4 separate regions of the Homo sapiens genome follow, and regions 2, 3 and 4 are each linked to region 1. Evidence: promoter capture Hi-C in 16 types of primary human blood cells and fetal thymus (Javierre and others, 2016). All regions are on one chromosome and are shown on one strand. Each heading gives the region's core, a stretch centred on a gene start or on the middle of the fragment in contact. The rest is flanking DNA. Distances are from core to core; before and after follow the strand shown. Region 1 holds the start of ROR1 (receptor tyrosine kinase like orphan receptor 1). Region 2 overlaps ROR1 (receptor tyrosine kinase like orphan receptor 1). Region 3 overlaps ROR1 (receptor tyrosine kinase like orphan receptor 1). Region 4 overlaps ROR1 (receptor tyrosine kinase like orphan receptor 1).

Region 1 (6,536 bases), core at 1,606-4,105:
GAAAAGATCAAACATTCACAAAATGGAAAGGGATTTATAAAACAACAAATAAGACAATAATAACAGATTTGAGCTCATTACTAAAGAGTATGGTGAGAGAAGAGAGACAGACCCTCTCATATTGTTTTATATTGTTTTATACTCAGAAAAGGAAAGAGAAGCGAAATTAAAGGCAGGTAGCCCGGCACCTAGGAACCAGACCTGAAACCAAGGAACCAGACCCGAAACCAGGCCTGGGCCTGCCTGACCTAAGCCTGGTACTTAAAGATCGACCCCTGACATAACTGGTTATGTTATCTATAGATTCCAGACATTGTATGGAAAGACAGTGTAAAAATCCCTATCCTGTTCTGTTTCGTTCTGATTACCAGTGCATGCAGCCCCCAGTCATGTACCCATCATGACCCTCTCACGTGGACCCCCTTAGAGTTGTGAGCCCTTAAAAGGGACAGGAATTGCTCACTGGGTGTCTGAGGAGTTTTGTCTGTGGCTCCTCCTGCTACAATGGAATAGGCAATACCTTTTTTAAACAACTCTAAAAGGCTGTAAACAGTTAAAGGAGACAGAATTGGGGTGGCTGCTGATAAGAAGGGTGTTTACAGTGAGCAAAATCAATGCAGGGACATGTATTTAAAGGTAAGTGACCCCCACCCCCACAAGGGGCTATGATCTAAAAGCAACTATTGTTGAAAGGTGAAGTACAAAGTAAAGGAGTCCACAGGGGAAATAACTGAATTAACCAAAGCCCCAAGCCAGGAGTCCCACCTTAGTTAAAATCACCCTGCTTATCTCCACCTCAATTTGCTGGGCAACCCAACTTGAGAAGGATGTTTACATTACTTAGGCAGCATGGCCCATTTTTACTTTTCACCCAGGTGTTGTGGCGCAAGGCCAGATGTTTGGCATCACCAAGCAAAACATCTATGTGACCAAGCTGTTTACATTTCATTAGGATTTTTCATCAGGAAGGTGCACTCCCTGCTGATGCACATCTTAATTACAATTAGGAGCTCTATTTACCCCCAGGAGCTTTCAGATTAGCACGACCACATTATAGGATCCGTTTCAGAAATCATCCTCAGAAAATGCTACTCTAGCTTCCAAAAACCATCTCTAAGAAATCAAAATTTCACACAACTTCCTTCCAGAGTGTGTTTTCTACCAAGAAAGTCAGCTAACTTTTAGTAAAAACTAATTCTGCATTCGTAGTCTATGTAGTGAATACATCTTTTTCCTCTCAACTGCTAAGTAGCGCAGAACTTTTTCTTTTCCTAAACACAGTGCTAACTTAAAAATGAAAGATGCATGATAAAAGAGCAGAGATCTATTTATCCGCTCAGGTTTAGGGCTGGGAGTGGGGGAGGGCAGAATCCAAAGGCTCCTCACCCCCTCAAGGGATGCATGTTAAAAGTGAGGCCCGAGACCCCGGAGACTTTAATCAACTTTCCCCCTCCAACCTCCAAAGAATGAATCGGTTGTCTCCACAGGCTCAGCCGGGCTCTTCCCTCTCATTGTGTACCGGCTCAGACGCAGCAAGGACCCCAGCTTCCCGCAGCGAACTAAGACGCTCCGGCTTGCGGTGAAGTCTTTCTCTAACTGTTGCGATTGTCTTTAGAGATTACCAAAATCAAATATGCATTAGATGGCTTTTCCCCCTCTTGTTTGTAACACGCACACACACACGCGCGCGCGCGCGCGTGCACACCCAAAGCACTTTGGAGCCGCAGGCCGCCTCTGACAGCACATTTTGCACAAAGTGGCAGCGGCTGCAGCGGCGCACAAGTTTTGGCCTCTATGATGACTCTCGGGAGGGCCGGAGGGCCGGGGGCGGTGGCGATGCGAGGCCGCCGGAGCCCCAGGAGGACAGGGCTTTTGTTTGCGTCGATCCGCGAGCCGCCTGGGCTCTGGCGAGCACCACTGAAAATCCAAACTCCCTCCTGGACCGCGCCTTCCGGGCCGGCTCGCAACTTGGGGGCAGGATAGACTTGCCTGAACACCGGCTGGGGCGCGCTAGAGGTCCAGGGAGACAAGGGGGGACGCCCTGCACAGAAGTGCCCCGATCACCCCCAGGACCCTCAAACCCCTCCACGCTTCCTGTCAGCGCTGACAATCGCTGCTGCGCACCGAGGAACGAGTCCCTGGGCGCGCCCCGGCCCGCCGCGGGGCTCCGGGGCAAACCCTGGCCTGGCGGGGCTCCGGGGCAAACCCTGGCCTGGCGGCGCCGGCGAGCCCCGTGGCGGGTGGCCGGACGCGCCCCGGAGCCAGCGCGGCGCTTCCTGCGTGTCCCGCGCCCGGCTGGACGGCGGAAGGGTGGCCACGGGTCAGGGGGTCTGGGCGGGCGGGGGCCGGCGGGCGCCTCTTACCTTGGGCAGCAGCCCCGCGTGCGGCCAGCAGCAGCGCGGCCAGCAGCGCCAGGAGCGGCGGGCGCGTCCCGCGGCGGCGCGGCCGGTGCATTCCTCCTCTCGCTGAGGCGGCGGCGGCGGCGGCTCCCAGGCCGCGCGCAGAACATCCACGGGCTCTTCCCGGGCTCCCGGCCGCCTCGTCCCGGCCGCTGGCGCTCGCAGGACGCCGGGGACGTCTGCAAAGCTCTTTGTCCCTCTAACCTGCTCCCTCGCCTCCGCCTGGCCGCCTCTGGATGCCGCGAGCGCGATCCCTTCCCAGCCCTCTGGCTGCAGCCTCGCCTGGGCCGGCGGGTCAGTCCCAGGCTGTCCGGGTCGCACCAGTGGGCGTGAGTCGCCCTGGGTCGGACTCCGAGAACAGCGCACCCTGCGCCCAGGGGCTGCCGTCCCGGGGCTCCCTCGGCGGCGGCGGTGGCGGCTGCTCCAGCTCTCCACGCTCCCTCTCTCGCTCAACTTGTCACTTTCCACCAACTCTCCAGCCCAGCGCCCCAGCCCCGACCAATGGGAGACGCGGCCCAGGCTGGCGACCCAGCGCCCTCTGCTGCAGCCTCTCAACGCCCGCACCCTCCCCGACTTCGCAGAAAGCGGTCGCGGCTCCCGCGTCTCGGGCACGCTCCCTCCCCTCCCCTCCCCCACACTCCTCAAACTCGCCACCGAACCGAGCGCCGGGGACCTTCGAGGCTACTTGACAGAAGGGGAAACCGAGGCTCAGAGAGACTTATCCGGGATCTCAAGCCAGTTCGTGGCTGGACGACAGTAGACCCAGGTTCTAGCAGCCTCAGCTGTGTCACTGTTAGCTGTGTGACTCTGGGTAATGGCACATTTATTGCTATCATACAATTTCCCTTTTGCTTTCTTCTTGGACCCAAGAGTTGAGAGAGTTCTTACACAAGTAATTTATACTTCGCCTTTTTGTCTTTAATTTGTAGTCTCACTGAATTCAATGTCATCTGTACTGCCTCCTGGCAAGATTTATTGAGGATTATCTGTGGTTATTTTTGCCAATGTCCCATGGTTTTTTGAAAGGTGTTTTTGTCTTCCGAATGTGAAGATAGAATACTGTATCGATTTATCTTCTTTGTATTCATTATTTTTTCAGGCCTTCTGAATCTTTGCATGTTTGTTTGTTTGTTTGTTTTTTGTCTAGCTGCTCTGCCATGAGCCAAGGGATCATTAAAGACCTCTACAATGAGTGTGTTTTTGTCCATTTCTCCTGGTTTAACTTTATGGATTTTGTAATTCATAAATACCCATAATGATTTGACTTTCCCTGTAGAGACTGCCTTTGATCATAAAAAGTGGTGAGCGCCTGCTGTTTTCAGGGCTGTGCTCTAGGCTCTGAAGATGCAAGGGTAATAGGACACCTGTCAGTCTTGCTCTGGAGGAACAGGAAGAAGCCCATAGTCTCTCAATAATCACGTGGCCACTTACTAAATACCTCCTGTTTGCCTTGTGTTTTATATGCATTTGCTCACAAATCCTCCATTGACACTAAAAAGAGTCATTAAAAGTATATACTTCTTAGCTGTTTTACATATATTATCCCCATATTACAGTTTTAGAAATTGAAACTCAAAGGGAAAGTAAATGACTTGCCCACAGTCTCACAGACATGGGGTAGCCAAGCCAGCACTCAGGCTGTTTCCACTGAGAGAGTTAAAGCCTGTAACCAGAGCCTGGCACATGATAAGCACTCACTCGGGAGTTGTTGCTGTTGCAGTAGCCTCTAAGAACCCAGCTTTAGGGTTTTAAAATGAACAGTCACTTCATGGAGGGCGAGGACTCTGTCTCAATCATCTAGGTATCTTGCTGGCCTCTAACAGTACCTGGAATGCAATAGGAGCTCAATTAATGAACAAAGGTTAGGTCACCATTTGGAAAATATTAATTTCTCATCATATTTGTTTTATAGGGGTGCATGGAGGAGGGACAAAATTTCATCCATACTCCTTGGCACCAGGAAAAGCAGATCCCTGAGAGCTGAGACATTAGAAGGGGGAAAAAATGCAGCCCAAAGTATGTCCCAGCAGGTCATGGACTCCAGACTCCCAGCCCTTTGCCTTCAGGCAGGTGAATGACTAACCCATGCGGGACAAACAGTCACTTATTCTTCTCCAGGACTTCATGGCAGGAGCTGTGTCGGTAGTTTTCCCCCTTTCTATCGCTCTGACCTGAGGTCAAAAAATGATAGACAGAGAGGCCTTGGGTCAACCAGTTCATTACCTACATTGATCTGTCCCCCAAGTTTCTCTGCCTGAGATCTATTCAATCCTGTCCCAATTATCTCGCTTCTTGCCTGAGGAACTTACTGCACAAGGTTCTCTTGTTGGGAAACAGTCTTTGATGGTCAGTCTTAGTATATCACAGCCCAGAAATCAGAGGATACTCAGTTACACTGCACAGTGCTGGGCAGTCCTCTGTTGTCTACAGTCAATACACACAGTTGTCAGACAAGGAGCCTTTCTCATCCACCCACCCTGCCCCCAGCCCCCACCCTATAACTCCTAGGCCCAGGTATCTTAGGTAACAGACAGCTGCTAGTGCTGAGTATACAGAACTTAATGGCACTTTTATCAGTACTTAAACTTCCAGGAACTTAATCACAGAATCATAGACATAAGGAATGTGAGACCTGGAAAGGGCTTTGGAAATTAACTAGTACACCCCCCTCAACATTTTATACAGGAGACATGTGGGACTTAGGAGAGTGAAACCGCCTTGCCCAAAGCTGGCCAGAGCCAAAACTAGGACCTAGACCTACCAGTCCAGACCTGGGTAAGGACCATCATCAAATCATCCCAGATTCCTTCAGTTTAGCTATAGCACACAAGTTTCCAAAGAAAAGGTTAGCAATGGCCTGGCACGGTTGCTCATGCCTGTAATCCCAACACTTTGGGAGGCCAAGGTGGGTGAATTGCTTGAGATCAGGAGTTCGAGACCGTCCTGGCCAACATGGTGAAACTCCATCTCTACAAAAAAATACAAAATATTAGCCAGACGTGGTGACACACCTGTAATCCCTGCTACTCGGGAGGCTGAGGCATGAGAATTACTTGAGCCTGAGAGGCAGAGGTTGCAGTGAGTGGATATAGCGTCACTGCACTCTAGCCTGGGCAACAGAGCAAGACTCCATCTCAAAAAAAAAAAAAAAATGCTGGGGTGGGGGGGTGTTAGAAAAGGCTTTTCCTGTTTAAAAAAGTAAAAGAGGTAAAATATATATAATATGCAAAATATATATATGTGTATATGTATATTTATTTATTTATGCAAGTTCAGTAAATGCCAATGTTTAAGAGCACAGGCTGGGGAGCTGGGCTGCTTGGTCTCAAGCTTCAGCTTCTCTGGTTTCTGCTGAGTGACTATGGACAAATATCTTAGTTGCCTGTACTTTTGTTTCTCACCTGTAAAATGATGATGATAATAATAGCACCTATTTCATGCTGTGGTTAGTGTTAATTGAGTTAACTCTTAGAAAGTGCTTTTATGAGTATCTGGCACAGAGAGACACCTAATAAATGGCAGATATTATCGTTATTATTATTTACTGCATGAACCTACTTATATCATCAAAATAAGGTTGGTCTTAGCCCATTTTTAACAAATGGGCTAAGTGAAGTGAGTTTTTAAAACTTGCCCAGAGTCAAAAAATTAAAGCAAAAAGGCAGGACTCCATCCCAAGTCAAATATCTCTCTACACTATACACCACTGTCTCAAACCCCTGGTGGGCTATGATAAAAGCTCCAAGCAATCTAAATGTTCCTCTCACAAGCCTCTTTTGGCCATGCCCTCTCTTTTAGGAAGCCAGAAGTTGACACAAATGGATAAGAGAACCCAGGTGAAGCTACTCACTTCCCAGGGGCCTGGCACAACCTGAGGTACTGGCTGAGGCTCCTGCTACTTACAGAGGCACTCATCTCCCCTGGCCTCTTGCACTGGCACACACGGTTCTGTTTATTATCACTGTAAGGCATAGTGGGAAAATGGAACAAGAGCAGGGCAATAGTAAATCATTGGGGTCAGGTGCCAAGGGGAGCATTAAATAGAAAACTATCTTTCATTTCAAAAACTTGCTGGTGGGAGAGACTCATTTGGGCCATCCGCTTGATTTACCCAACAAATACAACCATTAATTATTC
Region 2 (6,646 bases), core at 2,468-4,967, 230 kb before region 1:
TCCCAATGGCCCAAGGTGCTTCATAGATTTCTGTATCACATCCTCAGCAGAATTTTCCTTATTTCATACTTAGGCCAGTCATTCTTCATTCATATCCTAACGCAGGGAGTTTGTTTCCTGTGGCTCCAACTCTTATCCCCATGGGATACCAAAACTCTAGGCCTTAGAGAGTACCCATAGTTTTCAAATTATCATGGACTCTTTTGCTTAATTCCTCCTCAAAGATCATTGTACTAGTATTGAACTTGTTCTTCATTTCTGGAACCTAGGGATTTCACCTCTTTGTGTACCAGCTTGGCAATGGATTATTTTCTTCATTGTATATTTCACTAGTATCTCTCTGTGATTGGAAGAAGTGTCTCTTGAAAGCTCAATCTACCAAATTGACCAGAAGGCTTTGATTATGCATTTAGCTATCAGTCTTTCCAAATAGTCTCTGAGTTCATGGAGGACAGGGGCCTTTGCCTGGTTTATCTTTATATCCTAATTTTCATAGAGTTCCTAGACCAGAGTAGGAATCGATAAGGTTTTGATCAACAAATGATCTTCCTCTCTCATTCAAAATGGAAATTAAAGAATATACACTAATTACCTTCTAGAGAAAGATGATGCCAAGCATCCTCGTACCTCCAGAAAGCCATCCATACTCTCTGGAAGTCTGTGTTGAACAAATAAAGGAGTCTGGGGCCTGCCTTTATCCTTCCCTTCAGCCAGCAGGTTCATACTATTGACACCACTACTTTCTTAATGGGCAACTACTACTAATTACAGTGCTGGTCTGGTAGAAATTCCAAGTCTGGCAGGCTGGGTTCTAGACTGCTGGCTCTGCTGCCTTTCTTAGCACACATTGATGCTTTTCTATTGCCATAACTGGAATCTGATCAATAACATGCAGTGTGCAATGATATAATTTTTCTGTTGGCACCATAAGGAACTTGCAGAATAAGTTCACAAAAAAGCACCCAGCACAGTGCCTGGCACAGAGCAGGTACTAAGTTAATGTTCAGGGTCTTTTATTTCTTCTTTTCCATTAAACATATTCTATAAATATTTGTTGAAAATCTGCTTTCTAGGCATTGTGGTTGATGCTGGAGGTGGAGAGGAGTAACATGGAGTGCCTGATTTAATATTTAATAGAAAAATAATGTCAGGTCAAATTTGGCAATAGAAAAAATATTCTAAATGTCCTTTGATTTAAGGTGAAAAGACATCTCACTTCATTCCACCATCCTAAAGTGCCTAGTAAAGTATAACCAGCAAAATAACTTCACCCATTGCTGTTTTATAAAATAAACTTATCTCTTCTCAGAGAGGAAATACAACTTACAGTGAATGTATTAGTAGATGTATTAGTTTGTTCTCATGCTGCTATAAAGAACTGCCCAAGACTGGGTAATTTATAAAGGAAAGAGGTTTAATTGACTCACAGTTCTACATGGCTGGGGAGGTCTCAGGAAAGTTACAATCATGACAGAAGGCACCTCTTCACAGGGCGGCAGGGGAGAGAATGAGTGCCCAGCGAAGGAGGAAGCCCCTTATAAAACCATCAGATCTCATGAGAACTAACTCATTATTATGAGAACAGGATGGGGGAAACCACCCTCATGATTCAATTATCTCCACCTGGTCCCTCTCACAACACGTAGGGATTATGGGAACTACAATTCAAGATGAGATTTGGGTGGGGACACAACCAAACTATGTCAGTAGACAATAGAGAGCTAATCATAAAAGACCATTTATGACAATGACTTTTGAGCTCCCTTTACCACTGTAATCTCAGAACCTTGAATCATGCCTGAACTAAAGTAGAAACTCAGTAAGTTTGCTGAATGTATTTGCACACAAATATGTATGGCTATGGCTTCTCACCAGGTAAGATGTGACTCATCATTCCACACACATTTATTGAGAATTTCCTACAAATAAGAGTTTGTGCTAGATTTTGTGATGGAGACCAAAAAAAAAAAAAAGTAAGATAGAAACCCTCCTACAAGGAACTTCTAAGCTTAAGGGTGAGATAAGTATATAAATCACCATAACATCATATAGAAAATGTGAAGAGAAGAACAGAGAAGAAAGAGAGCTATGGGAGTTTCAAAGAGGGAAAGGCCACTTCCAGCTGGAGGGATTAGACAAGACTGGATAATGTAAATTTTATGCTTGGTCTTGAGGGAGAAGTAATTTGTTGCCTTGCAAAAGGGGGAGAATGAGTATTGGCAAAGAAGAGAAGGCAATCCAGGTGAAAAGGTGAGAGCAGAGAGGCAGAAAAGCACAGGATGTATAAGAAGAAATCGAAATTTGGCTGGAAATGCATAAAGGGGAATAAAGATAACTAAGGCTAGAAAGGTAGATTGAGCCAGACTGCAGAGGTTTTGAATGTGTCCTGATGTACCACTCCAGGACATAGGGTCTTTATAAAATACCCAATGCTTAACATATGGCGGGGCTTAATTAATGCTAAACAACAATCTCCTAGCAGAAACCTGTTCCCCACGTGCACAAAGGAAGCTGCCATCCTTATGCACAGGCAATTACAAACATTCCAGATACTCGGTCCTGAACCCTGCAAGCACATCAAATGCTCATCGTGAAAGGTCACCGAGCAAACAGCTCTGATGAATCCTGGCTTGGGCTGAATCAAATCCCCTAAATAAGATCCACTAGATGTAGTGTCAGAAAGGTCAGAAATGACCCTATTTCACATCTTGAAGCATTTTTACCATGTGGAACATTTTAGAGGAAGAAGAAAAAGGAACGAGGGGGGGAAAGAAACTCTCCAGAAATAATAGAATCCCAAGTAATTCAATGTTAAATGATCACAAAGTAAGCTGGGGATTTATTTTGGCCCCCACCTCCTTGCAGTGATCTGAAAAACAGTTGATTTCAAAGAAGGTCATGCCAGGATTAAAAACAGTTCCACACCTCTTTCCTCGCCTCCCCTGTGTGCCCCCACTGTGTACCTTTGTTGAGTTCACTTGAGATGTTCCATGATGAGGTAGGCACTAATTCAGCACTGACTGACAGCTCTGTTTCTGAAAAGAAAAAGAAGGGAAGGGAGAAAGACAAGGGCAATATTAAATATAGTAATTTATAGGCTGTTAGAAGCATTAGAGGAGATTTCCAAAGGGCCTGCCTTTGGAGAGAGACCACGGCAATCCCATAGCTTATTAGACTGGAATGGTGGCTCTAGATGCCAGTAGAGGCGCCTGCATTTTAGATGCCATCCAAATGAACAATCTATTGGCCAGATTTGAAGATTTTTACTTCAAAACACTGGCTTGAAAATTAAAATGTAAAATATTACATTAACCCTCTCAACATCACTTACCACCAGAGAAATGCAAATCAAAACCACAATGAGATGCCATCTCATACTAGTCAGAATGGCTATCATTAAAAAGTCACGCTGGGCACAGTGGCTCACACCTGTAATACCAGCACTTTGGGAGGCCGAGGCAGGTGGATCACAAGGTCAGGAGTTCGAGACCAGCCTGACCAACATGATGAAACCCCGTCTCTACTAAAAATACAAAAATTAGCCCTGCCTGGTGGCATGCACCTGTAATCCCAGCTACTCAGGAGGCTGAGGCAGGAGAATCGCTTGAACCTGGGAGGCGGAGGTTGCAGTGAGCTGAAATGGTGCCACTGAAATCCAGCCTGGCTGACATAGCGAGACTCCATCTCAAAAAAAACAAAAAAAGTCAAAAAATAACAGATGCTGGCAAGGATGCAGAGAAAACGGAATGCTAATACACTGTTGGGGGAATGTAAATTAGTTCCACCACTGTGGAAAACAGTTGGGAGATTTCTCAAAGAGCTAAAAATAGACCTACCATTCAACCCAGCAATCACATTACAAGGTATATACCCCAAAGAAAATAAATTATTCTACCAAAAAGACACCTGCATCATATGTTCATCACAGCACTATTCATAATAGCGAAGACATGGAATCAACCTAGGTGCCCATCAACAGAGGACTGGATAAAGAGAATGTGGTACATATATACCATGGAATACTATGTAGCCATAAAAATAATGAAATCATGTCCTTTGTAGCAACATGGATGCAGATGGAGGCCATTAGCCTAAGTGAATTAACAGAGAAGCAGAAAACCAAATATCATGTGTTCTCACTTATAAGTGGGAGTAAAATCATAGGTACCATGGATAGGAGCAATAGACACTGGAATTACAAAAGGATAGAGGGAGTGGGGCAAGGGTTGAAAAACTACCTATTGGGTAGTATGTTCACTATCTGGGTGATGGGATCAATGGAAGCCCAAACCTCAGGATCATGCAATATACTCTCACAACAAGCCTGTACATGTACCCTCTGAATCTAAAATAAAAATGGAAATTGCAAAAAAAAAAAAAAAAGAACAAGGGCAAAATACACCTCGCCCCTAAAATACTACATTAACAAGAAAACAAATCTGCAGAAATGACCACACATAATCAAACATAAACTCCTTTTCTTGTTGAAAGACCAGTCTTAGACTAATAAATTTAATAGCCTTCCTAAGGAAGAACAACATTGCTCCTGTAACTAATTTCACTGGTCGTGTTTGGAATTGTTACCATTTCTGTGAATAGAGAAATTCGTTTCTCTACATTGGAATTTTAGGTCAAGACAAATGAAAGCTAAGTATTTGAATATAGAGAGTCATTTGTGGTAAATAACTTAAAATATAATTTTCAAAGCCATCATGAATCAAAGCAAACATACAAATCAATAATCTAAAGGACATAATACACTATGAAGTACTTATGGACTGTTAGAAGTACTTACGGGCTGTTAAAACTCTTTAATAATAGACTGTAATATACAAATAATCTTGGTTGTTGTTCTTGTTTTTTGAAAATTTAATCCACGCTACTAATATATTGTAATGGGGTTATACTAACCTCCCCTCAGGCTATGTCTACACACACACACACACACACACACACACACACTCAGAACATTACTAGAGAATATTAGGGCTGGACAGGACCTTAGAGGACCCAGGGTCATTAGCTATAAGGCATACAAGTTGTCAATCCCTCCTACTTCAATCCAGTGTAGGCATCTTTAATCAATTATGGCTCTGTTTACCTGTTAAGCCTGGGATCTGTCGTAGAGTCCTTTAAGCACAGTGCTCTAGGTAGCCACTAAAAATTGATCTGAGATAGAATGCAGGATGAACTTTATTAAGTGGAAGAATTGCAATTCAAACCCAGGTCTCTTTGACTCTAGCACTCCACACCTTCTGGCAGCCCATGCTGACCAGTACTCAAGCCTGTAAAACCTGGCTTTTTTTTTTCACCTTACCTCTGGCCTCACCTTTTCACAGAGATAAGCACATTTTTCGTATTTCCATATTTACTGATGGTGACTGTCTGCCAAATGGCCACATGTCATCGTCACTGACTAAGCTTGAACAAGAACAGGATGTTGACTCACTGAGACCTTGCAAAGGCATACTTCTAGTTTATCTCCCTGCCACAGCAGAGACAAAAGGATTGTTTGGTTTGTGCAGACCTCCTTGGCTTACCTCTTTCCTAGTCCTAGAAGCAGGTGGGAAAGAAGTAGATGAACCACACATACCCTCCCCACCTACAGTGGCCCTGGTTTCCTCCAACGTCCTGAGCCAAAAATAGCATAGACTCTTTCAAGGGGACCAGATGTCAGATAGGCAGTATGGCAGGGATCTTAATTCCAAAATATGAAAACAAAAAGAAAATTTTACCCAAGTAGGAGAAATGCTTACTACAAAGCCACAGTGGAAAGCAGTGCTTCTGTTATCAACCTCTTGTTTGGGGAACGGGTATTTCGTGCAGGTGCTTTCCCCAGAAGAGCTAATTGTCTACATTTCAGGGCCCTCCACATATGACTCCAACCCCAACTCCAGTCTGAGCCCCATGCTGCTGCCACCCACTTTGGCTCTTTCAATAATGACAGCCCTTGTTTTCAGTAGTATGGACTGCTGCGGTTCACCTATGAAAAGGCTCATCAAACACCCCGACACCCAGACTTCAGGGAGCTTGGGAATAGAAGGTTGGCAGCCAAGGCGGCATTTCAGGGAAGGAAGCATAGGTTGGAAAGTGGTGGGATTAAAATGAACCTTGACAGCATTTACATGCAATATTTTCATAGCTTCATCTTACTGCTGCTCACAGCCAGAAATATAGTTTCATTTTACAGTGTTAATTTTATAGACAGTTAGCTATATGTCACTTGGTTTTTCCAAGCTGAGTTGAATTGCTGATTGAATATAATTTGGGACCAATGACAAATGAATAGATTCTTGGCACTGCTAACACTGAAATTGTTCCCCACGTGTCCCTGGACACTAATTACCACTCAGTTCTTGGGCTGTAGCAAAGATAATTTCAATTCGCAAGCTCATTAAGTGATTGTGCTGATTCTGGGGAGTTTTGTTCTCAACTTCAAGATCCATTCCTTTAGATAACCACGTGTTCAGCTTCTCAGATAAAATGATAATAAAAACAGATAAAATATTTTAAAATATGAATAACTTCCCTGAAAAATAATATCTTCCAAGGCCATATTTTTTTAAAATAAAGGCTGATTATTTTATGTAGAAAGTTGAATATTAATAATCTCCCCTCACAAAGTGATGTTTAATAAGCTTTTTTT
Region 3 (7,062 bases), core at 4,063-6,562, 160 kb before region 1:
TGAATGTAGACAAGGAAGGAAAGAAGGAAGAAGAAATATAATGGTGTCAAGTTAAATTTCTTTCTCTCCAATTAACTTCAACTTTCCCATAACATGCGTTAAAAAATAATTCTTAACTTAGTCATATATTCCTTAAATGCTGGAAGGTTAGCATTCCAGCAAAACCTTCAAGCATTTAAGGTAAGGGTGTTTTAGAAAACAGTCATTATTCCCCCCAAAGCATGCATTTTTTATGAAATACCACAATGACTGTTCTGTGGGAGAAGAGGAGAGACTTCAGAAAGCAGCTGAATCTAAGGTCTCCACCTTTTCACTTTAGAGCACCCCTTGCTTAGCTTTGATAAACCAAGGCAGAAAACGAATAGATTGCAAGTGCTCCGTGATAATGTGTTTGGAACCAATAGATCTTCTTCACTTATTTCTGGACAATAAGAGGTCAGCTGGAAAGCACCAATAGTAGAGTTCTTCATAGCAACTCATGACATAAAAGACAACTAATGGTAAGGCTGAAGGCATTAATCCTTTCTCCATAACGGTCTTTCAATCAGCAGGTAATGCCACTGGGATGCCAGTGTGTACTTAAATGGACTTTCCCATTTTATTCCTGGTTAATCTCCCTTTCACCCTCTCAGAAATGCCAGCAACATCCAACTTGGGATTTTTACCAAAGCTTTCATAATTTGAAGGACTTTTTTTTCTCCTTTACATTTGAAACCACAGCTACCTCATAAATAACTCCTTTTATCACAAGTGTGGATGTTCCTGTAATGCTACCTGCAATATGTCAAACGTTTCAAAAGTTATCTAATGTGCTAGACAGAAACTGCTTTTGACCTCTGGGTTAACCAAAGTTAACCAACAAATGTGACTGCTTTAAAGGCTCCTTCCTGCTCCAGCTGCTGTTTCAAGCTATAAATTACTGCCACTCAGGGCAGTGACAAGACAGGGTAGCAGGACTTTTTCTGACACTGTACAGTTTGTGATTAAATATAGTCTTGGTTTCCTTTCTCAGTAATCAAGTATGTGGACATTATATATAATCCTAAGAGGCCTTCTTGGTAAACTACCCACAGAATTTAAAAACCATGTGGTAAATGATTAGAGGGAGGTTGTGTTTTAATAACTTTTTGGGGTTTCCGTTAGAGAAATTTGATTTTACTTAGTTCAGCACACCTAGGCCTGATCTGTGCCACCCTCTACAATTAACCTGACCATTTCACTCTGTCTCTGACTTCCCATTAGCTGTACCTTGGCACAGGCTGTGCCCTCTGCTGGTAAACAGGACCTGGTCCTCAGCAGTTGCAGAACTGCATCTTAGCTCATCTGATGCTGACCAATGATCTCCTGGGCTTGCAGAACTAAGCTATAAGCATAAAGTTCATACAGCTCCCTCCATTCTGTTTTCCTAACCAAAGGCTGAAAATTAACTCTTGCTGTCCAGGAGCAGGGACATTAGTTTTTGTTTCTTTGGTGGTGGTGTTGGCAGGGGAGGGAGGTTGGGCAATGAATTACTGAACCATATTTTACACTGCAACAAAAAACCAACAGGCTACTTTTCAACATTTGGTTTACAATCATTCTCCCCTCTACCCAAAAAAAAAAAAAAAAAATTCTCCCAAATCAAACAGAGCTGGAGATGGATGGCAGATTGCTAAATTCTTGCAGAGTCAAAATGTAAAAGAAGCATGATAAATTGTTACTTGGCTCCCTCATCCTTCCTTTGAAAAAATAATTTACAATGTGGGATGGGTTAACTCCCCTTCACATCATCTAAATCCTCAGAAAATCTATGGCAGGCTCAGTCTGAAAGGCCAATTTGACCCCACAGACCTGTCTCTTACAGGATCTTCTCAGGCCCAGACATTAGACGTAAGCTGTCTGTCCCTCAAGACCCTGATATCTCAAAAGCCAAAATTGTAAAATATACTTTTTTAAAAAAAGGAAACCCTGACAAAGCCAACCCAAATGTTTTCTTTCTGTTAAATTTAAATAAGTGTTAAATTAGATTCCGCCTTGCAGTCCTTGCAAGTCCAAGTCACGGGGTAAGAATTTGGTAAACAGTTTTATCTGTCAAAACCATCCCACAGGATCCATTTAGGAAATAAATGAAGTTGAGGGTAAAATGTGGCCTTTGTGTCAATGATAGCACCTAATATTTGTTATATGCTTACTACAGGAGCCAGGTACTATGCTGAAGATTGTATGGGTCTGATACCATTTTGATCCACACAGCAAGTCCATGAGGTTGGTGTCACCAGCATCATGCCCATCTAACAGATGAGCAAACTGAGCCTTAATGAGTGTAAGTCTCTTGTCCAAAGTCACACAGAGGGTGACTGGTATGGCTCGGTTCAAACCAGGGGGGTCTAGCTCAGAGCCAGGCCCTTACTGGGAAGCTCAAGGCCTCTTGCTCCATACCGGCCACCCAGGTCCATACCAGTGGAGTTCACCTACAGGATCTTGACCTCGTTCTTATCATCAAATCCCTTATGTTCACCATAGGGGATTTACCATGAGGGATGTTTATCACTGCTTTATTGCTCTCCCTGACATACCTCCTCACCACCACCAACAACCCAAACTGAATCCTGCACCTGCAAAGCAGCAGCTAGCTGGAGGCCAAATCTGAGACAGAGCCCAGCTCCCAAGCCTTGGTGCTCCCATCAGCCCTCACCCTGCTTCTCTGTACTTCCTTATTCACTGTGGCTCATTGTGCAGAAGCTGTACTGACCCCACATCCAGACACGAAGGTGCGGAACTTGCTCTGGGTCTTGTATGTTCAGTCCAGGCAGAGGGCATGTCTCACCTGGGATGTGTATGTTCAACACTGCATGACATTTGCTGGTGGGAACACAGGCTTTATAGTCACAGCTCTGCCTACAGATCCCAACTTCACCAATTAGCTGGGTGACCTTGGTTTTCTCATTGAACCTCTCAAGGCCCTAATTTCTTCATTTAAATTACAGGCATAGTAAAGATTTTCAGAATTGTTGCAATTAGATAAAACGTACAAAGCAGTTGGTGTTCAATAAATGTTAGTATCTCTGCCCAAGAAATGGCAAGATCTTAATGGTCTCTTAACCCTTCTGCGATGGAGTTAGAAAACTTACGAAAGAGAGCAAAGCAACCATGCTTATTCATTCAGCAAATACTTATTGAGCACCTATTATATGCCAGACATTTGATTGAGGGTTTCATACTCCTACTGGGCTATTTAAGCCCACTTCTGGGGATGTAAAGGGACACTGATTAAGCTCCTGCCTAGTACCATGCAAGTAACATGGAGAATCTCAATGACTGTCACAACCATCTGAGGCCAGAATTATTAACCCTGTTTTACATATAAGGAAATGAAACGCACTGTGAAAGGTCCAGAAGCTTGGCCAAGGTCCCACAGCTATAAGATGCAGCAGGCACCACTACTATGCTGCCCTGTCTCTCAAGTTCCATCAGATGCCAGATGGATAATCCTTTCTCAGGACTCTTGGTCATTTTCCATTTGATCCCTCCACAGTGTTTAATTTAGGGAAAATTAAAAAGAGGGTCAGTTCTTATAATTTTCAACACAAGTCAATTAAGGCTGGCAAGATCCCTGGGCTCAATCTCAGGCCTTGCAACTGGGAAGGGAAGAGGCATCTTTCAGGACTCTTGGCAATTATTACAGAGATAAAGGGCTGTCAGACAGGTGGGCAAAGAAGGCTCAGAACTGTCACCACCCACTCTACCAGCTCTGGCCCTACACCTGCCATTCTACCACCCAGTTCCAGTCTTCAAGCTCCAGGTAAAAATCAGTGGAATGAATACCAAGCAAGCTGGGAGAATACCCATACACTGCCTCTCCTCTACAGCAAGAGCAACAGGATCAGCTGGATGCAGGTTCAAATCCTGCCTCTGTCACTTACTGGCTAAAGGAGTCACCTACCTCCTCTGGGACTGTTTTCCCTTCTATAAAGCAGGGAAAATAATGATAGATCATGATAACATCACTTGAGGACATCTGAGAATCAGGTAAGGTAATGTGTGTAAACTGCAGTTCCTTCTAAATGGGAAGAACCATCAGGGGCATCATTCTTCCTTGGCTTTGGGGGCAGTAGAAATGCTACCGACCAAGCCAGGATGGTAGAGAATTTACATGATGATGACTCTCATTGGTAGGCCTCACTTCTCATACAGCACCCAACAGCCTTTTTCTAGTTCAGAAGATGGGCTGAAGGAAGGGAGGCCGGGCTATTCTTGCCGAGACCTGAGTGCTGCCTTTTTTCCTCATTTTCCACCCAAGCAGAGGTCCCCTCTTTCTGCACACAATGGGACTCCATCAACCCACTTCCTCTCCATTCCCACTCAGCTGGGGCCCCCATAGGCCAGCCAAGAATCCTATCTATCACCCCTGCACCTTTTCCACCTCTTCCTCCCATGCCAGGCAACCTCCCCTTCACTCATTCTCCTCAGGTCTATTGAGCATCTTGCTACAGGCCAGTAACTGAGGTTAATAATACTGGCTTTATGTATTCGATGGCTCAGTGCCAGCCCCTGAGCTAGGTACTTTATAAATATTATCTAATTTAATCCTCACTGCAAGCATGTAAGGTAGGCATTATTATGAGTACATAATATGAGTATAGCAGTTTCCCCTCATCCAAAGGGGGTACGTTCCTAGACCCCAGTGGATGCCTGAAATCATGTATAGTACAGAACCCTATATATACAATTTTCCCCTATACACACATACCTGTGATAAAGTATCATTTATAAATTAGGAACAGTAAGAGATTAACAATAATAACTAATAATAAAACAGAACATAGTAATATGCCAGCATCACTACTCTTGCACTTTGAGGCCATTATTAAATAAAATAAGAGTTACTCAAACACAAGCACTGTGATACCAAGATGAGTATACACTGTGAGGATCTATCTGATAACCCAGATGGCTATGAAGTGACTAATAGGCTCTAGAAATTGTAGACAGCTTAGATACGCAGGACAAAGGAAGGATGCAGGTCCCAGGCAGAACTAAGCAGGAAGGCGTGAGATTTCACCATACTACTTGGGACAGCATGTAATTTTAAACCTAGAAGTTGTTTATTTCTGGAATCTTCCATTTAATATTTTTGGACCACAGTTGACTGAGGGTAACTGAAACCCTGGAAAGCAAAACCTTGGATAAAGGAAGACTACTGTACTCGAGGTTCTGAGATGTGGTCACTGGCCCACTGCCACAGAGAAGCTGGGATTCGAACCCATTTTGTCTGACCTCAGAGCTACGTACACCTCTTTCCACTGTTCTACACAACCTCTAAGCACTTCTGCTTATATTGTCTGTGATTTACTTTATTTTACTTTATGTTTTGAGACAGAGTCTCACTCTGTCACCCAGGTTGGAGTATGGTAGCGCCATCTCGGCTCACTGCAACCTCCGCCTCCCAGGTTCAAGTGATTCTCGTGCCTCAGCCTCCAGAGTAGCTGGGATTACAGGCACCCACCACCATGCCCAGCTAATTTTTGTCTTTTTAGTGGAGATGGGGTTTTGCTATGCTGACCAGACTGGTCTCAAACTCCTGACCTCAACTGATCCGCCTTTCTTGGCCTCCCCAGGTGTTGGGATCACAGGCGTAAGCTGAGCCACTGCATCCGGCCTTCTGTGATTTACTTTAAAGCTCTTGAGTACTGATATTGAGATGAACATGTGTGTTTCTAAGTTAAATTTAATCTAACTCTGAGGATGGATAGTTAACATTTGTGTAGCCTAAATAGGGACCTACATCCCTGCCATAGTTATTAACATTTCAAGTACACTAATTAGGAATTCACACATGTGAATAGAAGTTGGTAAGAATATAAAGGAGGAAACTGTAACCACTTCACATATTGCTATCTAAATCTGCATTTGAGGAGTCATTAATGAGGATCAGTTAATATGGGGCATTAGAAATAATTTTTCATTCATAAAATGAGCGATGGTCAGGAAATATGATTGGCTTACAACATCATATGGGCATCTCCACTCTAGCATGAACAAGAGGAGTCGTACCTAGGTCCAAACTTCTGTAAGGTCTTGTGTGTCCCACCCAGTAAGTCTACCACCTGATGCAGCTGGAAGACTGGCCAACCCTGATATCAGAATATTATGCTTGTCTTATCCTGAATTTTTTATGCAAGGATGGTTCATGGGGCTCAAGGACAGAAAGAAGGAATTACTTGGAGCCTAAAGAAAAGAGATTTACGATGATTTTTATGCTTGCTGGCTAATAAATGCTTGTACTTGTGAATAATTTAGCCTATGACTTGCTTTCATTGTAACTTGGGTTGCTGGGGAGGAAATGTGGTTCCCAAACCCACCAGAAAGAACCTGACCACTGTTGAACAGATAATGACTTTAGTCAGTTCACAGCAGAGTCCAATAAGCCGGAATCCCTGCCTTTAAAGTAAGAGAGAGGAGAACCCATTAAACAATGAAAACACATGGACTCAGGGAAGGGAACATCACACACTGGGGCCTGTCAGCGGGTGGGGGGCTAGAGGAGGGATAGCATTAGGAGAAATATCTAATGTAGATGACGGGTTCATGGGTGCAGCAAACAACCATGGCATGTGTATACTTATGTAACAAACCTGCACGTTCTGCACATGTATCCCAGAACTTAAATAATAATAATAATAAAAAAAAGTCCTAACACTCTGTCTACAGACTCACAGTGAGAGGCAGATTAATCTAGTTGTTAAGAGACCAGGTTCTGGGCCAGATTGCTGGATCTGAATTCTAGCATGAGTTACCCAAAACCTCCTTGTGCCTCTAGTCTCTTCATTTATAATCTGTTAATTATACTTCCTCCTAAGGCAGGATGATCACATGAGCTACTGAAGGAAAAAGCATACTGAACAAAAGAAAGCCTTTAGTAAATGTTAGTTATCATTACAGCAGAGAAGGAATAAGAACTGCTTTTCAAGAGGTACTCAGTGTTAGCTATTATTATTTACCATTTACATTTATTTACCATTTTGACCAATAAGCATACACTGCATCCCCAAGTACTAGAAGCTATGGAGATAAATAAGAACT
Region 4 (7,034 bases), core at 3,477-5,976, 180 kb before region 1:
AAAGTGGAGCAAAAGGACAAGGATCCAAAGCCCTGCATGGATTACTCTGACATCTCTCTTACATATGTCACTGTTATCTGGGAGTCTTTGTTATAGCAACCAAGTTTGTATCCTGACTAGTATGCCATCACAGTGATATTAAAATCAATGTGTCTGCTTAGCCCAGGTCTCACTCCTGCAAACCACTGTATTCTCCAAATCTAGAGACTCTCTCCACTTGGCTGCTGCCCCAGATTCAACCTAAAGTGTGACTCCTTCCCCAGTCTACTTTCTTCCCAATTTTCCTTCTTGTTTGGGCATCTAGTTCCACATTTTCTCTGCTGAAGACCTTCATATTATCTTCACATTATCATCTTATCCTTCAGGACCCAAGTCCTATTCAAGATGTTCTTCCAAGCCTCTCAAAACTATCTCCTGCCCTACAAACCTCACCCTTGCCCTAATGAAGGCCCTTACTGTGGGAAATCTGTGCTGCCACAGTAACAACTTTCTGCCTACAGTACTCTCCATCTACTGCAACCCAGTAGGCGCCACCATTTATTGAGCACCTACTAGGTGCCAAGCACTGGGTTGGACACTGTATGCACATTCTCTCTAATCACAAGCACCACTAGGGTAGGCATGTTACAACAGTCCCCCTTTATCCACAGTTTCACTTTCTACTGTTTCAGTTACATGTGGTACAGTATAACAATCTTTTGAGAGAGAGGGATCATGACTGTATTCACACGACTTTTATTACGGTATATTAATATAATTGTCCTATCTTACTAGTTATTATTGTTGTCATAGGTACACATGTGTAGGAAACATAGTAAATATAGGGCTCAGTGTTATCCATGGTTTTTGGCATCCAGTGGGCATCTTGGAACATATCCCACACAGATAAGAGGGGACTGCTGGTATTATTATTCTATAGACAAGGAAACTGAGGTTCTAAGAGATTAAATAAAAGCTGCCCAAGATGACACAAGTAGTAAGTGGTAGGAACAGAGTGTGAACACAGGAATATACAAGTTCCATTCTGCCACTTGGCACATTGGAGTATTCATAAACAATTGCTAAGTGGATGAATGGATGAATGAGTGAATGCCTCCCCACACTCACTCTTGACCACCTTTCTAAATCACACCTTTCATTATGTAATTTTCATTCTCCCAGGACAGAGCCAAGGATTAATGCCCCATAATTTTCATTGATCCCCATCCCCTTAGTAACCCCAAATAGGATACCATCCAAGTAAAAACAGTGTGTTTGCTATGCAGTGTAGCTTTAGGGCAAGACCTCAAAACTTTACCACTGCCCTTTCCCAAAACCACCCTCAAGTAAATACACAACCTAGGTAAAATCTTTTGCTTGCTAGCTCTAAGACAGATCCTCTACCCCTTCCATCACCCCTACCCTCCACCTGAGAGCTATCCTTAAATTGCTCCTAGACAGAAATTTTGGAGTCCCCACTATTCTCAGGGCACTCAGGTATTCACATTAGTAAATATCAAATTCCCCTGGCCTGGCTTCAAGGCTCTCCATGCTTCAGGCAAAGGTACCTTTGCAACCTCATCCCCAGCACTCTCCCTCAGAGAACTCCAGCTCCAGGCAGCACTGGTCTGTCAAAGGCCCTCAGACAGGTTACCTTTCCTAGCTCCATGCCTGGGGCCCTGCAGTGGCTGCCACTGGCCTTCTTTCTATGCTGAACTCTGCCCACTGGATACTTCCAGGCCCATCTTAAAGTCAGCTGTGAGGCCTCTGATGTCCCATGCTCTCTCCTTCCCTAGACTTCTAGAGCACTGGCTGTCCAAAGGCTGCCCACAGCTCATAGAATGAAATCCAAATTCCTTACCTAGGTCCTCCATCACCTAGTTCTGCTTTTCTCAATTTCTAGGACCTTCCTCGAAAAGGCCCAGCATGTTCCTGTTTGGGGGCCTTTCTATTTGCTATTCCACCACCTGGAGTATTCTTCCCCCATATGGCCCACTCTCTCACCTCCTCCAGATCTCAGCTCAGACCAGAACTGTGAGAGCCCTTCCTTTCCCATCCCTTACAAAACAGCTACACTTTACCACCCCATCGTACCCTAACCCTATATCCCCCCTTGACCTATTTCATTTTTAACCATTGTCACCTGGGACATTATATAGGTATTTGTTTATTTTCTGTTTCTCTTTACTAGAATGGATGCTCCACTAGGACAGGGACCTTATTTTTTTCATAGTAGTGCCTGGCACTCAGTAAATTGATATTTAATAAATGAACCAATGAATGAATGAATCTACTATTAAACTCCATCTTAAGCACAGCTCGTCTACACCAATTTTCTTTTTTCTTAAGGCTCTTAGACTACACCAAGCTTGTTCCCTACTTCAGCATATTTGTACTTCTGGTTCTCAGGGGCAGATCCAGGTTTTATGGGGTCTAAAGCTTCTATAACTAGGTGTGGGTAGGCAGAGTGGGCAGCATGTGGGCTGGTGGTGAGGGGGGGGTGTCTTTAAGAGAAATTACAAATGCAAAATAGCTAAGGCCCCTCCTAGGCCCCTGGAGAGGCATAAAGGGTGGAGCCCAGAACGTCATCTTCATGGCTCCCTGGGAAATCCTCCCACACACATTCCTATTCCCTTTGCCTCTGTGTGAGAGATCATTCTCTCTCAGGTCTCCTGATGGCACCTGCTGTGCCAGCCAGGCCTCCGTTCAAAGTTGTCCCCTCCTCAGAGACGAGTTCTCCCCAGCCCCCCTCTTTTACCCTATTTTCCTCATATCACTTTCATTGACTGACATGATCTGTATTAGTATTTCATTTAGTTGCTTATTATCTGTCTTTACCACAAGAACGTCAGCTCTTAAGGGACTTTGGTGCAACAGTGTAGGGTGCCTGGAACAATGCCTGCCTCATAGTCATGCTCTAAAAAGCTTTGCTGCAAAAGAAAACAAGCCCAACAGCCACCTCCCACATTCTCTGAAAACCCAAATGATAAATTAGATCCTGGTAAAGAAATTAACTGTCCTCTTTACCTCCCTTCTCTGTGACCTCTGAGGTGAGCCATGGTCATTCTTTTGCTAACAACCACAGACAAGGAACCACTTACTGGCTCTTGCAGAGCTCCTTCTACTTCAGCCAATCCCCAAAGAGAACTTCCTGCTCCTAAAGGATGAAAAGTTCAGGGCTTTATTTCACATGTTATTTTTGAATTTGCTAGGATTTTCTAGTAAATGTAGTAAAGAGTATTGTTCGATGAAGGTTTTTGGTTGTATTTTCATCATCCTTTCCCATGATGAGTGGTAATCTCACCTGTGTAGGTGTATAGCTTTGATGAAATTTCAATGTCATTTTCTGCTCCCTTCACTGTGGTATCAAAATAGTTTAACTCTTGCAGGGAATCTCTCATGTATTCCCCTTAAAAGTGTTTGATAGCTCACTGGCTCCCAAATCTGGCTGCCCTTGCATTCACCTGTGGTGCTTGTTAAAAACAAACATTTGGGGAACTTGCCCTAGGTCTGTCAGAGGCCTTGGAACCAGAGTGACTCCATCTTGAATAGGCATTGGGTAAAATGAGGCTGAAAGCTCCTGCCCTGTATTCCCAGGAGGTTAAGCATTCAGAGTCACAGGATGACATTGGAGGTTGGCACAAAATACAGGTCACAAAAACCCTGCTACTAAAACAGGATGCAGTAAAGAAGGCAGCCAAAACCAAGATGGCGATGAAAGTGACCTCTGGTCGTCCTCACTGGTCATTATATGTGAATTATAATGCATTACCATACTTAAACTCCCACCAGCACCACAGCAGTTTACAAATGCCATGGCAACATCTGGAAGTTACCCTATATGGTCTGAAAGGAAGAATTCCCAGAAAACTCATGAATAATCCACCCCTAATATATCATATGATCAAGAAATAACCGTTAAAAACAGCCAAACAGCAGCCCTGGGGCTGCTCTGCCTATGGAGTGGTCATTCTTTTATTCCTTTAATTTCCTAATAAACTTGCTTTCACTTTAATCTGTGGACTTGCCTCGAATTCTGTCTTGCGCAAGATCCAAGAATCCTCTCATGGGGCCTGGATTGGGGCTGCTTTCTGGTAACTGGTCCACTTAATCAGAATCTCCAGAGGCTATCAGGACATTCCCTGTGTTTAACAAGCACCTCAGGTGATTCTGATGTTTAGCCAACTTTGGAAACTGCGGTGATTCTAACAGATTTGGATGAGAAAGGAATCTTCAAGATACTTACAAAACGAAGGTCAAGACAACTGGACCAACCCAGAAAACACAAGTATGTTTACGAATGTCGTCTAATGAAAAATGAAAACATTCACCCCACCTCCACCCCACACAAACCATTTTCCTTGATTTGTACAAGTTAGGGCACTGGCTGGACAGGGGCATTCAAGAAGGAAAAACTACTGAAGTCTCAAGTTCCCGGGCTACCCCCTTTGAGAAACTTAAGCATGTCTGAAAATGGCATGAAACCTTTTCAATTTTGAGACAATCAAGCAGGAGACTGAAGGAGTAAATTACTAAGCCCTTTGCACCTGGAGGAATTATGGCACTTTCCAGACACATTCTGTGAATGTGGGCCAGCTCCTGGAGGAGTGAAGCAGAAAGAAAATAGCACCCGTAAAAAGGAAACCCTCCAGGTAAGCTTGGGAAAGCTGCTGGAACACTCTAAGCCTCTGTTTCTTAATTCACAAAATGGGCAGAAAACCAGGCTATCTCACAGAATGAAATAAGTTCAGGTTTCTACAGAAACATTATTCAAATGTGGCTGTTCTCCTGCCTATCCCAAGCCAGGCTCAAATCTTCCACCTTAATGGAAGCTTACCCCATTACCTCCACTCAGGCAAAAACCTTTCCTTCTCTGGGGGGTGGGGAATGGAGTGGGAAAAAAGAAAGTCATTGGTAAGAAGGTAAGGAGCAATAGGTAATCAGGAAAAATCACCTGATGAAATTGAATTCGGACCTGATTTCGTCTATTTTAGCCTTTCCTTTTTTCTTTTCCATGTCCCCGACTTGCCCTAACCCCTTTCTGTGCAAGCACTCACTCCTGCCTTCTTTATATGGAATGGTTCAGATGCCTGAGCGGGGCTTGAGGAAAGTACACCTGGCTCACTGCAGTTCTGCACAGCACACTGGAGCACATGTAGGGTAGCTCATTAAGCATATTGTACAATGTCACAGAACATATCATGAGTTATAATGTCATAGCAATGAAAAATTTACTGTGTGTCTTAGTTCAGGCTGGCATAACAGAATATCATAGACCGTGTGGCTTATACACAACAGAAACTTAAATCTCACAGTTTTGGAGCCTGGGAAGTCTAAGATCAAGGCACCAGCAGAGGCAGATTCAGAGTCCAGTAAGGCCTCGCTTCCTGGTTCATACAGGGCTTTCTTTTTGCTGTAAATCTCATGGCAGAAAGAATAAGGGAGCTTTCTGGGCCTTCTTTTATAAGGACACTAATCCAATTCAGAAGGGCTTTGTCCTCATGACCTAATCACCTTCCAAAGGCCCCATCTCCTAATACCATCATATTGGGGGTTAGGGTTTCAATATAAGAATCCGTGGCAGCAGAGAGTGGACACAAACATTCAGTCAGCATTATGTATGTTCACTGGTTTCCAAACTTCATGGCCATCTTCTTTACTGAACATCTACTAGGCATTAGGGTTGGTACTGGGAATATGGTGGTGAGCAAATGAGACAAAAATATCTGGCTTATACCCTCTGGAAGTATCAGATTTCCCATAATATTATCAATATCAGTTATCAGGAAAAGAAACTCTCTTCTTTCCATTGAACTTTATAGTTAAGTATAGCAATCTCCAAATGTTTGTAAATCAGTAAAAAAAAAAAAAAAATTGGACCACAAACCTCTATTATATATGTATATTTATTTATTCAGAACTTACATACATGAAGTTCTGTACTATTATAGTATCTATTGTAAAACATCTACATAAAATAGAAATGTGTAGAGGATAAGATAATTTCTTTTCATTGTTTGTTTGTTTTATTATCTCAGGGGATCAACTTGCACAGGTCTAGAACAGTGTGGACTGGCTAAATCAATTTTAAATTCCACGTCAGTAACTTACTACCTGTGTGACCTTGGCCAAGTGATCTAACGATTCTGTGCGGCAGTTTTCTCTGTAAAGTGGAGAAAACAGCAGTACCCAATGCAGTGTTACTGACAGGGTAAAAATGAGATAATTTAGGTAAAGTATTTATTCCTGGCATATTATAAACACTCATAATGACAGCAACTATTAGCAACATAATATTATTATTACTAAGTGGTATCTGTTCACCAGCATGATTTCAGAAGACAGATTGTGTGTCTCCTAATATGAAATCCTAAAGGGTGGAGGATAGGCTTCATTGGTATCAGGTATCAGGAGGGCCAAGGGTTCAAGACCCAACTGGGGATCATATTCTCCACTGTAACAGATGCAGGTAGGACATTATGTCATGTGGTATATGTTCCCATTATAAATCTTCTTGCTTTAGCCCCCAGGAAGGTCTTCTAGCTGACACCAGCTCACACAGGTCTCAGCTATCACCTCCCGCCGGCCACCCCACCTCCTTCACAGTAAGCCCTCTTGGTTGATGGGGAGCCTGCAGTGGAGCTGGCTGGTACATACATTACAGGTTATTAAAGGGCATGGAAAAATGCTCAGGCTTCAATGCAGACCCAAGAGCAGTTTTCAAATTTCCCTGTTTGGATGGGAATGCTTTAACACTGAAGTATGTTTTCCTTGGCAGAGGTACCCTCCATTAGATGCAATTTCTTCCTGACATTTCAAGAATTGTTTTATGTCTGTGTTCTCTATAAGGAGTATCCATGGAGGTCAGAACGGAAATTATAGTTCTAAGAATGCCATATTAGCATAGATGGTAATGCATAAGCCCCAAGCTAAATATCCCCATTCTGGCTAGCCTGCCAGTGCGATGATTAACAAGTTGGGCTGCCATACAGGGGACTGTACTGGGCGCGCTCCCGGACTGCTGCTCCTGGGCCAACATGGGCAACGTGTGTTTA

Evidence for each region. The method cuts DNA at HindIII sites, captures the fragments that hold promoters and counts their contacts. A CHiCAGO score of 5 or more calls a contact.
Region 2: a contact is called between a fragment that was not itself captured here and the fragment with the promoter of ROR1 in region 1, in 1 of 17 cell types (endothelial precursors). The highest score is 5.2, in endothelial precursors.
Region 3: a fragment that was not itself captured here is called in contact with the fragment with the promoter of ROR1 in region 1 in 1 of 17 cell types (naive B cells); the score reaches 6.1 in naive B cells.
Region 4: a fragment that was not itself captured here is called in contact with the fragment with the promoter of ROR1 in region 1 in 1 of 17 cell types (naive B cells); the score reaches 5.4 in naive B cells.

Annotation. Positions count from the first base shown.
Region 1 is chr1:63,770,336-63,776,871 of GRCh38, reverse strand. ROR1 (receptor tyrosine kinase like orphan receptor 1) reads right to left here and starts at 2,855. Exons shown (of 9, transcript NM_005012.4): 1 at 2,364-2,855. The coding sequence starts at 2,454. RefSeq lists an enhancer at 1,231-1,794 and silencers at 1,660-1,954, 2,739-2,788. The HindIII fragment of the contact is 6,004 bases long and covers 1-5,731 here.
Region 2 is chr1:64,005,694-64,012,339 of GRCh38, reverse strand. It overlaps ROR1 (receptor tyrosine kinase like orphan receptor 1), which reads right to left. Exons shown (of 9, transcript NM_005012.4): 2 at 2,964-3,035. Among named protein-coding and RNA genes, the nearest start is that of ROR1-AS1, 100 kb to the left of the region's middle. RefSeq lists an enhancer at 5,329-5,623. The HindIII fragment of the contact is 3,413 bases long and covers 2,011-5,423 here.
Region 3 is chr1:63,929,572-63,936,633 of GRCh38, reverse strand. All of the region lies in intron 1 of ROR1 (receptor tyrosine kinase like orphan receptor 1), which reads right to left. Among named protein-coding and RNA genes, the nearest start is that of ROR1, 160 kb to the right of the region's middle. The HindIII fragment of the contact is 3,864 bases long and covers 3,381-7,062 here.
Region 4 is chr1:63,947,155-63,954,188 of GRCh38, reverse strand. The region is part of intron 1 of ROR1 (receptor tyrosine kinase like orphan receptor 1); the gene reads right to left. Among named protein-coding and RNA genes, the nearest start is that of ROR1-AS1, 160 kb to the left of the region's middle. The HindIII fragment of the contact is 175 bases long and covers 4,639-4,813 here.